Regions from separate parts of the Homo sapiens genome. Here all the other regions are linked to region 1. The links are contacts of gene promoters, found by promoter capture Hi-C in blood cells and fetal thymus (Javierre and others, 2016). All regions are on one chromosome and are shown on one strand. The core of a region is centred on a gene start or on the middle of the fragment in contact, and the rest is flanking DNA. Distances in the headings are between cores, read along the strand shown.

Region 1 (3,832 bases), core at 1,050-3,549:
AGAGCCCCTCCACACCAGGGACTCCTCCTTCACCTGGGACCAGGAGCCTGGGGCACACCCCAGGGTGGGGGAGAGGGTAGGAAGGTCTCCCATTGAATCCTGGCTTCAGGCTCTGCCCCGAGAAGTGTCTGCGGTGAGGGTGTGAGCCCCGGGCTGATGGCCTCTGACCCCGGCAACAGGTGGGACCCTGACTGACTCGTTCAGCTGCCCCCAAGCTGGGCTGCAGAGCATCTGTTTTTCTGCTCTCCAGTTTCTTTTCTTTTTTTTTTTTTTTTTTTTTGAGATGGAGTCTTGCTCTGTTGCCCAGGCTGGAGTGCAGTGGCATGATCTCAGCTCACTGCAGCCTCCGTCTCCCAGGTTCAAGCAGTTCTCCTGCCTCAGCCTCCCGAGTAGCTGGGATTACAGGCGTGTGCCACCACACCTGGCTATTTTTTTTGTATTTTTAGTAGAGATGGGGTTTTGCCATGTTGGCCAGGCTGGTCTTGAACTCCTGACCTCAAGTGATCCACCCGCCTCGGCCTCCCAAAGTGCTGGGATTACAGGCGTGAGTCACCGCGTCCTGCCTGCTCTTCCTGTTTCTTTCCCAAGGGTCACACTCAGTAGGGAGATGAAGGTGGAAACATCCTTGCTGTGGCTTTCTGGCCTCAGAGCAGGTTTTAGAGGAAGGGGCCACAGGCTGCCTAGTGCATCCTGGCTGTGGGCAGCCCCTTTCCTGGAGCCCTCCTGCCTACCCCGTACCTCCCATCTGGCTGCACAGCTCCATCCTTAGCCACGCAAGGGGAGAACATGGGCAGAGTCTCCATCCAGCAGCTGGGGGTTCTGGTGGCACTCCCTGTGCCCCTGCTGCTGCTGGGCTGTGGGTCTGCCCTGCACCCAGGAGCCCCACGGTCCATCCCCCACACCATGCCCAGCACCAGGGAGGTTGGGCAGACAAGACCTGGGCCATGCCAGCCCTCTGTGCCTCGGTTTTCCCACTGGTTACACAGGATGGTCGCATTTTCCCTGCCTACCTCACAGAGCTGTTCTGAGGGTGCATGGAGGAGCACTCTGTCCCACCAAGGACAACTAGAAACCAAAGCCATCTGACAGCCAGTGCGGTAAGGGCGGGGGATGTGTGTGTGAGGTGTGCACACCCCCCGAGAACCTGGCCCTGGACTGGCCTCACAGGACAGGAGGCAGCCCCTTGTAGAGCTAGGGCTCAGCCCCATCAGTCTCAAAGGTTAAGCCACCAGTCACCACCGAGGCACCCCTCAGGCCTGGTGGCCACTGTCCACTATTACGTAGACAGACCCCACCCTCACCCAGGCCAGCTGTGGGCCAGTCCCGCCCTGCAATCTGGTCTGCTGCCTTCCTCTTCCATGTTGGTCCCCTTGGCCACTGTCTCTGGGCATGCAAGCCAGTGTCCTGGTTCAGTGCCTCGGCCAGAGCTGGGGCAGGAGAGGGGCCTCTGGGTGAGAGCTGGGGGTGTCTCTGCAGGGTACTGGCAGCCTTGCCACACTGTCCTCATTCCCAGATGGAAAGACCTGAGTGCCTCTCGCCTTCCTCCGGGAATGAATTCCTCATGAAAATGACCAGGCCACTTCTTCCGAGGGCCAGGCCGCCCCCTCCCCGAGACCTGTCCTGCCGTCCGCGGGTGTGTGGCCTGTAGGGGACTGAGAGCTGGGCTTGCTGGGCACCTCTGGAATCTGACCCTGTGGGCCAAAGAAGCACCACTGTAGTTTCTGCAGACCCCCATGCGGTTCATTGTGCATTGTTTGGTTTCTAGGATGTATGTGTTGCTAGTTTTTTTTAATGAAACCCTGGATTAATGTAAATAGCTTTTTGGGGAACGGATTCTAATGTCACGTATGTGACCGTGTGGACTATTTCAAGGTGCTGATGCAACACTAATAAACCTGGAGGGGCCGGCCCCCGCCTGCAGTGTGATTCTCTCGGCCGTCCACCCCTTGGGAGCACGCGGCGGAGCAGCGCCTCCCTCCCGCCCGCGCGCCCCGTCCTGGGTCGCCCCGCCCCAGCCCTGCGGCCCCGCGCGCGCGGAGGTGGCCCGGGGCTCAGCGGCATCGCGCCGCTTGAAGGGCGCAGGGCCGAAAGGGGCTCTGGCCGACAAACCCCAAGTTCAGGTCTGTGCTTCGGGAGACCCCGGAGGCCGACGCCCGGAAGGGCCCGTGGGGCGGTAGCGGCCATAGACCCGGATATGCGCCGGGGACCCCCAGACCGCGCCCATCCCCCACCCGCCGCAACGGAGCCCAGAACGCAGGCGCGGCGCAGACCGGAAGCGGAACCGGTGGGGGCGGGGCTTGCCGTAGCGGACGTTCTGGAGCGAGGCGCCGGCCCCTTGGGCCCCCTCAAGCCGCGGTGTACTCCAGCGGCCCCCTGTGGCCTCTCCATCCGCGGCGGGTCTGTCCCTCCTTCTGTCTCCGGGTGCCCACGTACCCCCCACCTCCGACCGCCGTTCCCGTGTACCCCGCCCCCCCGCCGAACCCCAGAGTGCCCACGGCCTCCAGCGTGTGTCCTGAGCCTTCTTCCCCCGTCCCTCCGCGGACCCCGGCCGCGCAGACCCCGCCTCCCCACCGGAGAGGGCGGGCACGTAAGGGCTCCGGGCTGGGCCTGGGGCGAGGCCTGGGCCGCGTGGAGGGGAGGTCTCAGGGTCGGAAGCGGGGCTGTGGCAAGAGCTCTGGGCCTTTCCTTCGCCCCGGGCGTAGCAAGGCCGGGCCCTGAGAGCGTGCCCGCAGTGCTGGCTGAGGGCTGATGCCCCTGGAACGTTTGAGAAGGCTGGCAGAGGCGTGGAGTCCGTGCAGCAGGCTGCCGAAGGCTTTCCAGGCTCCCGGGGTGGGGTCGGCAGGGGCAGAGAGGACAGTTCGGGAGGCTGGTGTGGAGAAGAGCTGCGGCGGGAGCTGGGGGATCCACTCCACCCAGAGGGGTCAGTGATGCCTGACCTTTGGCTGGAAGGTGACCCTAGCAGACCGCGATACTGCCACCATCTGCCCCCAGGGACTCAGGTATTGGTGGGCACGTGGGTGGCCTTGTGGGCCCCGCCCCACCTCCCCCTGCTCCTACCCCCAGATCTCAGAGGTGTGGACAAGCAGCCTACTAGGGCTAGAGATGGACAGCAGGAAACTGTCCCCCCGGGGGAAGAAGCTGGAGTCGCACCTCTCCCAAGAGCACAGGCGGCCCCCACTGGGCCTGATAGCAGCCTGGGGCCAGCCCAGTATCCAGAGCAGCGTTCAGCAGGGACTGCAGACTCAGGACTGGGTAAGCGGAAGGAAACCCTGGCCGAGGCTACTCTCCTGTCCCCAGCCCGCCTGAGGCCGCTGTCTCTGAAAACTCCAGGCTGGTCGTGATGAGCAGCCTCAGGGGAGGGCTGAGTGGGGACTGATGAGAAACAGATGGCTGGACTCAGGAGGCTCTCTTCCCCATGGCCCTGGACGAGCACCAAGGTGGACCTGCACCCTTCTTGCTTCCAGAACCGTGGGCCGCTGGGCTCTGTAGAGAGGTCTTCCAAGGCCAGGAAGGAGGCAAGGCAACACACTTCCCTTAGCTCTCCCCAGTGCCTCCCACCCCAGGCTGAAGGTGGCAAGAAGCGGGAGGGAAAGCAAGGTCCCCAGGGGGGGTGGTGTCCTCCCAACCAGGTGGGGCAGCTGTCAGGAGAAGGATTTGTCACTGAAAGTTGACCAAAACAAAATAGTGGGAGAGGCTCTGCTGTGATTCCCCAAACTGGAAGCATCTCCTGGTCTCTCTACTGCTGGACAGTGAGCTACAGGCTTGTGTCAGGCCCAGTAGTGAGAATGGTGGGATATAGCTGTTCAGCCTTAGGACGTTCTCTGAGGGCAGA
Region 2 (3,832 bases), core at 410-2,909, 380 kb before region 1:
TTAATGTGAACCGTGCCAGCCTGCAGAGGGCGCAGGGCGGGGGCCGGACAGGGCCGGGCACACACACGTACCATTCTGACTTCCCTCAGGATCCTGCCTCGGACAAAGTCACTTCTGCGTTCAGAAGAGTTAGTGCCTTCCCCCTCAATGCTTTCACTAAAAGCCTCTATATGTCGCAGACAGCCGGGCTGGAAAGCTGTGCCACCAGGAACGCGCAGGGGAAGGACTGCAGGGCTGTATGCTCATCCCATGCAGCGAGTGGTCTGTGTTTCGTGCACAATTCTCCAAGGGACACAGGGTCTCCTGGCCGAGCCTATGTGGCCCTGGACAGTCCCTTGCTCCCACACCCGCCCATGCTGCCTGCCTTAGGGATCACACCCATTCCTTGGCTCCCCCCACCCGCCCCACCAGTTCATTTCTCCCAAGGTGCACAGGCTCTGCCTGGCTGCTTTCTACTTGACATCTCTCAGGTCAATGCCCTCCACTCGAGAGCTCTGACCAGCCCGTACAACCATGGCCTCAGGGGCCACCTCCCCTCTCATCTCAACTCCTTTCTCTTCAAAGGAACCAAAACATGGCAGGGTATGTGTGTGTCCGGGGCAGGGGGGGTGGGTTCCTCACCAGTGTGTTGTGGCAGCCCAGAGCTGGCCAAGGCAGTGTTTCTCGGCGTATGCCTCAGCACTGGCGCTGTTGGTTGAAGATGCAGATTCCTGGATCTTACCCCAGACCTGGGCAACTCCGGGATGGCACCTAAGGCTCAGCCTTGCTGGGCAGGTTCCACTAAGACGCACAGCACAGATGCACTAGATGGACATTGGCCATGTCTACTCTCAGAAGTACAAGTCTGTGCAAACTGTTTTTTTTTTTTTTTAACTGATTCTAAATTGGGACATCTCTGGGGCACTAAAGGCAGAGCAGACAGGAGGGTGGGCTCTGGCTTTTGACAGATGCCATTCTGAGCCAGTGCCGCCTGCGGGGAGCTGGGAGGATGACAGCTGGCTCAGGGCCATACTGGCCGGCAGAGTCTGACAGGACAAGCATCTCACGCATGATTAAGTTTCTCTCTTCTCATGCTTGTAATGTAGTGAAATATTATTTCAAATAATTCAAGTTATGCATAAATAGGGTTACAATCTTTTGAATATGCAAACTTTGGAACTTCTTTTTCTCTTAGTCAATCTGATGGCTCCCTGTGACCAGGGTATACCCAGGTGCTCTTGGAAAGCTGGCGTATGGGAGGCACATGCTGTCTCTGCTCGGGGTCTGGAGACCAAGGATGGGAAGTTTTGCAGTGCGGGAGAACTGGCTGCCAAACATACCCCTTCCCAGGAGCCCCTCTGGAGGCTCCCACCTGCTGGTCCTACCCTTGAATTAACAGAAGAAAGGGTCCCCCTGTTCTCTGAATTTCCCTTCAGTGTCACAGATCTCATCCCCGTGCCTTTAACACATGTAAATTTTAAAAAACTAAGTGACCTCTTGGGCATTTATCCCAGAGAAAAAGCCAATGTTCATGCAAAAAACATGTTCCAGAATGTGCACAGCAGCTTTATTTGTAGTAGCTCCAAATCTGAAACAAGGAAAATGTACCCTTCACCTGGGCACGGTGACACACACTCTGCTCCATTCATGCCACCAAATCCTACTCTGCAATAGAAAGAAATGAACTGTTGATACACAGGACGGATCCTTCCACAGGGGCATTAGGCTGAGGGAGAAAAGCCAACCTCAGAAGGGTGCTTGCTATGGGATCCCATTTATGCCACATTGTCATGCTGACCCAGAGCTGAGGGGTGGCAGGGCTAGAAAGGAACCTGCGCAGGGAGATCTTGGGGGTGAGGGCCCTTCTGCTCCTGGGCTGTGGGGGTGGCCCTACCCTGACTGCACAGCGCCGGACACGCACACATGCGCCTGCGGCAGCCGTGTCATCACACGGACCTGGGGCCTGGCTGTGCATCCTACAAGGATGCCGGCCCTGGGGAGCAGAGGAAGGGCACATAGGACCTCCTGAACACTGCTCTGCAACCTCCCCTGGCTCTACAATTATTTCAAAATTAAAATTAAAGGAAAACTTCCCTAACCCTAGCTTATTTCCCCTACAGCACCCATTTCCCCAGAGCAGCATGCCAGTGTCACCACAGGCACAGCCCTCAGGCTGGGCACCGCCTCTCACACCTGCATACACCAGCTTCTCAACTAATTCTAAATGAAGGACAGTTTACCACCAAAACACATTTACACATTTCTATTACTTTTGGTAAATATTCGAGTTCTTTGTGTCAGCCACAAATTTAACTTTTCAGAGCTTTTCCATCCCAATCCATTGTTTAAATCACTGGCTTAAAATTGCTAAGTATATCGAGAATTAACATAAGGCTATGTCAAACTACAAAGGACACCCTGCGTTGGGGAAAAGATTAAGTCCCACGGGTTCCTCTGTGGGAAGTCAATATACCTTTTAGGTTTTTAGTTTCTCTTTCAACCTATCTCAATCCCAAGCCTGCATAGCAATGGATTAATTTAGGACCCAAACCAAATCCTCTTGAACAGCATGCATTAAGCCCAAGTTTATAGACAGAAGAACCCCTGGCTGCCTCCCCTGACTCTGGAAACCCAGCAGCACAACCCCCATAATGTGGGGCCTACAGGAGGTCAGCACGACTGAGCAGGGCAATCAGGGCAACTCACAGAAGGAACAAGAATACCAATGGGACAGGCCAAGAAGACCCACAACCACACTGGGAACCAGTTCAAGAAGCTGTCCCAAGCTCCTAGGACCCTCTGGGTCCCACTTTCCTTTCCTCTGAGTCCTTAGAAATGCCAGGTCCTGAGTCCAAACCCAACGACAGACCCTCCCGCCCTTTTCTGAAAGCCAGATATGGATACTAGAAGCCTCCCACTGGGGATCTTAAGAGGATGAATTCAGTGCTTGGCCTGGTGCTGTCAGCGGTCCTAAGGGCAGCACTAGCAATACGTGACCGTCAGAAATCACCCTAATAACATCTGCTCTGAGCGAGGGAATATACCAACAAACAATGGCGGAACCACATACAGAAACAGAACTCTCAGCCATTATCTGCCGCCATCAGTCGGAAACCAGCCCTTTACCTTCAGTAACGGGCCAGGAAGCCAGGTTGCCCTAGTCAGACCTGCAGGAAGCCTGGCTGCTTTCTCTAGGAACAATCCAGGAAGCTAAACAATCATTTCCATAGCAAGCAGCCCAAAATGGCCAGGACATGATTAGTAACCGACAACCTCTCCAGTTTTTGTCCCTGCTTCCAATTTAGGACCAACCAGAGAAAGCCAAACATGTTCTAGGCCATCTCACAGGAGCCCCACTTCTTTGTTGTTGTTGTTGTGTCGCCCAGGCTGGAGTGCAGTGGCGCAATCTCAGCTCACCGCAACCTCCGCCTCCCAGGTTCAAGGGATTCTCCTGCCTCAGCCTCCCGAGTAGCTGGGATTACAAGGGTGTACCACCAGGCCTGGCTAATTTTTATATTTTCAGTAGAGACTTACCATGTTGGTCAGGCTGGTCTCAAAACTCCTGACCTCGGGTGATCCACTCACCTTGGCCTCCCAAAGTGCTGGGACTACAGGCGTCAGCCACCGTGCCAGGCCAGGAGCCCCACTTCTAACTGGCCACCCCAGTCCCCCAAGTCAGCAGCCTCCATCAGCCATCCCTGAGCTTCCCTGGATTCCACTGTAAAGCTCTCCTGTTCCCTCACCTGCCTATGAGTTTCTGCCAATCACGAGAGAGGAGGGCCGCACCCTTGCTAGGGGAAGCTCTGGATAAACAGCCTCTGCCTGTTCTCACCTGGTTGCTTATTTCCACAGC
Region 3 (3,832 bases), core at 433-2,932, 270 kb before region 1:
ACAAACAAACAAACAAACCCACTTGGTATTGAAATGTAACAGCAAAATTGAAGTGAAGCCCGTGTAGGAAATCCTGGATTGCCCAACAAACAGTATCCTACACACACCCTTAGGCACAAGCAAAACAGGGACAAGAAAAGGGATTTTTTTTTTTTGAGACAAAGTTTTGCTCTTGTTGCCCAGGCTGGAGCACAATGGCACAATCTCAGCCCACTGCAACCTCCGCCTCATGGGTTCAAGCGATTCTCCTGCCTCAGCCTTGCGAGTAGCTGGGATTACAGGCAACCCCCACCATGCCCAGCTAATTTTTGTATTTTTAGTAGAGACAGGGTTTCACTATGTTGACCAGGCTGGTCTTGAACTTCTGACCTCAGGTGATCCACCTGCCTTGGCCTCCCAAAGTGCTGGGATTACAGGTGTGAGCCGCCATGCCCAGCCGAAAAGGGAACTTTTATGAAAAGTAATTTGACGTTGATATTCATCCATTCGTGCATGCAGTATCTGCTGGGTGTCTGCAACATACCAGGTCACACCTGGGGACAGGACAGGGGAAATCCAGTCTGTCTCTGCCCTACTGGACCTTGGGTTCTGGGGGCAGACAGACAATAAACAGCTCCAGCAATGAGAGGCACCGTGGGGCTGTGAATCACAGAGACACTCCCGCGACCAGGGAGGGGTGCTGGGCAACAGGCAGAGGCTTTCAGACGCGAGGGAGCAGGCAAGTGCACTCACCTGGAGGCCGCCCAAGGAGCCAGCAGGAGCCAGGGCAGGGTGGAGGTCGGGGAGCTGGACCGTGGGGTGACCTTTGAGGACTTGGGCTTTTTCTCTGAATAAGGTGGAAAGCCACTGGAAGGTTCTGCTATTTCCAGAGGAGAGGAAGAAGGATGAGGAAGGTGAGGTCTCCCTGCCCCTCTAGCTGCTCAGGTTAGGATGCACTTGGTCAGGAAAGGCCGCTGTAAGGAGGGCCCCTCTGTTTCCCATGCTTGGGCCCTGAGGGGCTGCTCGGCCAGGGAACCGCGTGCGGAGAAAATTGACACTGAGCATCAGCTGCACTTCAATAATTTGGTTGAACTGCACGGAATTGCTGACAGGTGGCTGTTTTGACGAAAAAGAGGCAATTTCATACCATTCAATCAAGCAGGATGAAAGGCCGCCCAGCTGCGGAGGTTAGGTGGGTGAGCAGAATGCGATGGACTGGGCCCTGGCCAGCAAGGACTGACAGGAGGGCGAGAACCAGGTGGGGGAAGTCGCCTCCTCGTCCCTCACTATGGAGTTGCTTGACTCTGTCCAAAGTCCATTAGTTCAATGCCTGCAGCCATTTGTATTTAGACAACGGCACAAAAAGTGTCCTTTAACATGACACTCCATGCTATAGGACAGGAACTCACACAGAACCCTCTTTCCATTTGTTGACACTCAGATAAATCGCCCACAGGATGCCTGGAAAAGCCGTGAGGATGACGCTCGTAGTGCAGAGCCAGGTGCAGGACCGGGAGCTGTTTCACAGACAGCCCCATGGCTCTGCCCCAAATCCCACAGCCTGCCTAGCGGGATGGGGAAGACAGGAATGCCCGTACTGTAGTAGAAGTCAGCAGCTCTTTTTGGAAGTAGTTTGGCAGCGCTTATTCAAAATGCTTCATTGTCCTGCAACCCGGCAATTTCATGTCTAGGAAACAGCAGGTTGGCTTGGATGACTCAGGCAACACCTCCATCATTAGCAGAGCTCGTGTCAGTTTTCTAAAAGACAGAAGCCAGAACAAGTAAGGGAATTTAGCAAGGTTGTGGGATATAAGAGCATTAAACAAAAATCAACCGCTTTTTTTTTTTTTTTTTTTTTTTTCGGAGACAGATTTTTGCTCTTGTCGCCCAGGCTGGAGTGCAATGGAACGATCTCAGCTCACTGCAACCTCCGCCTCCCAGGTTCAAGAGATTCTCCTGCCTCAGCCTCCCAAGTAGCTGGGATTACAGGTGCCCACCATCATGCCCGGATAATTTTTGTATTTTTAGTAGAGACAGGGTTTCACCATGCTGGCCAGGCTCGTCTCGAACTCCTGACCTCAGGTAATCCGCCTGCCTCAGCCTCCCAAAGTGCTGGGATTATAGGTGTGAGCCACCACGCCCAGATAAATCAATTGTATTTTTATTTACTTGCAAGAAACAATTGGAAATTGAGAAATTTTAAAACACCACCCACAAAGGCATCACCTAGTATGAAATACTAAGGATAAATTTGACAAAAGAGACGTCAGGTGTATAAACTGAAAACTACGAAGCATGAACTGCACACCTAAAGATGGTTAGGATGGTACATCTTATAGTATGTGATTTTACCACAATAAAAAATTAAATAGAATAAAAGGACAGAAAACAAAACAAAAATCCCAAAATATTAACTGTGGTTGTTTCTGAGTAGTGGGATGATGGATTTTTCCCCCTTAGTTTCTGTATTTTGTCCTTTTCAAATCCTCTCTAATGCACAAGTGTTACTTTTGCAAAACAAAGTAGCAAATGTAAGAAGCCACGTGTGCTCCTTTCTGCTTGCAGTATAATTTCACAAAGCCCTGACTCTTCCACAATGTGTAGCTCTCCAGAAAGATGCTTTGAAGACAAAGCAGGACAGAGCGCACGGCCCCCACATCTCTTGCCTGAGTCACTACATTCCTTCAAAGATAACATGACCCCTGCCAGGAGCGGTGCCTCACACCTGTAATCCCAGTGCTTTGGGATGCCAACGTGGGATGATCATTTGAGGCCAAGGGTTTGAGACCAGCCTGGGCAACATGGCAAGACCCTGTCTCTATTTTAAAATTTTTATTTTTATTTTTGAGAGAGTCTAGCTCTGTCACCCAGGCTGGAGTGCAGTGGCAGGATCTTGGCTCACTGCAACCTCTGCAGTTCAAGTGATCTTGGGTTCAAGTGATTCTCCTGCCTCAGTCTCCTGAGTAGCTGGGATTACAGGCATGCCCCATCACACCCAGCTAATTTTTATATTTTTAGTAGAGATGGGGTTTCACCATACTGGCCAGGTTGATCTCAAACTCCTGACCTCAAGTGATCCACCTGCCTCGGCCTCCCAAAGTGCTGGGATTACAGGCATGAGCCACAGTGCTTGGCCTTAAAATTTTTTTTAAGTAGCTGGGCATGGTGGTGCATGCCTAGCTGCTTGGGAGTCTGAGGCAGGAGGATCACTTGAGCTCAGGAGTTTGAGGTTACACAGTGAGCTATGATCAGACAACCCTGGAGAATCGGCTCTGAGTCCCCTCATGGTCACCATGATTGTTGATTAAATTAAAAAAAATCAATCACTGCGCTCCAGCCTGGATGACAGTGCAAGACTCTGACTCTAAAAAAAAAAAAAAAAAAATTATTGCCTCTTCCTACACATAAGATGACCAACACCTGAAGGGGTTCGTGATGATGCCGCTGTCATCTATAAGCAGATGTACTCTACCACCAGACCTCGACGGGACTCTGCTTCAATGTCACTCCCGAGCATGTTTGATGTGCTCTTGTGCATATTAAGCCCCCACTCTGTACACAAGCAGTGAGCTGAAACACTGTGTTGGAGCAGCCTGACAGAGCTGCTCCCAGGCTATAGGCCTCAATCTGTAGTCCTCAGTAAGACTTCAGAATAAAACTAACTTTAGTTATTTGAAAGCTTGATTTTTTCTCCTTTAGTCAACAATCATGGTGACCATGAGGGAACTCCAAGCCAACTGCCCAGAGTTGTCCAAAACATCACCAGGACCCGGTGCCTTGGTACCAGCATGGGCCCTTTGAGTCCCTCTGGGTCCCCAGTGGTTAAAGACCACTGAGTGAGTCTCTCCTCACA

The links. The method cuts DNA at HindIII sites, captures the fragments that hold promoters and counts their contacts. A CHiCAGO score of 5 or more calls a contact.
Region 2: a contact is called between a fragment that was not itself captured here and the fragment with the promoter of TEX22 in region 1, in 1 of 17 cell types (monocytes). The highest score is 5.4, in monocytes.
Region 3: a contact is called between a fragment that was not itself captured here and the fragment with the promoter of TEX22 in region 1, in 1 of 17 cell types (endothelial precursors). The highest score is 5.2, in endothelial precursors.

What each region holds. Positions count from the first base shown.
Region 1 is chr14:105,396,239-105,400,070 of GRCh38, forward strand. TEX22 (testis expressed 22) reads left to right here and starts at 2,300. Exons shown (of 4, transcript NM_001195082.2): 1 at 2,300-2,397; 2 at 3,064-3,252. The coding sequence starts at 3,103. It overlaps PACS2 (phosphofurin acidic cluster sorting protein 2), which reads left to right. Exons shown (of 25, transcript NM_001100913.3): 25 at 1-1,909. RefSeq lists a silencer at 1,813-2,722 and enhancers at 2,390-2,900, 2,901-3,411. The HindIII fragment of the contact is 23,339 bases long and covers 1-3,832 here.
Region 2 is chr14:105,012,345-105,016,176 of GRCh38, forward strand. All of the region lies in intron 1 of CDCA4 (cell division cycle associated 4), which reads right to left. Among named protein-coding and RNA genes, the nearest start is that of CDCA4, 6.8 kb to the right of the region's middle. The HindIII fragment of the contact is 5,093 bases long and covers 1-3,832 here.
Region 3 is chr14:105,125,623-105,129,454 of GRCh38, forward strand. No RefSeq gene overlaps it. Among named protein-coding and RNA genes, the nearest start is that of MIR6765, 23 kb to the right of the region's middle. The HindIII fragment of the contact is 3,947 bases long and covers 1-3,656 here.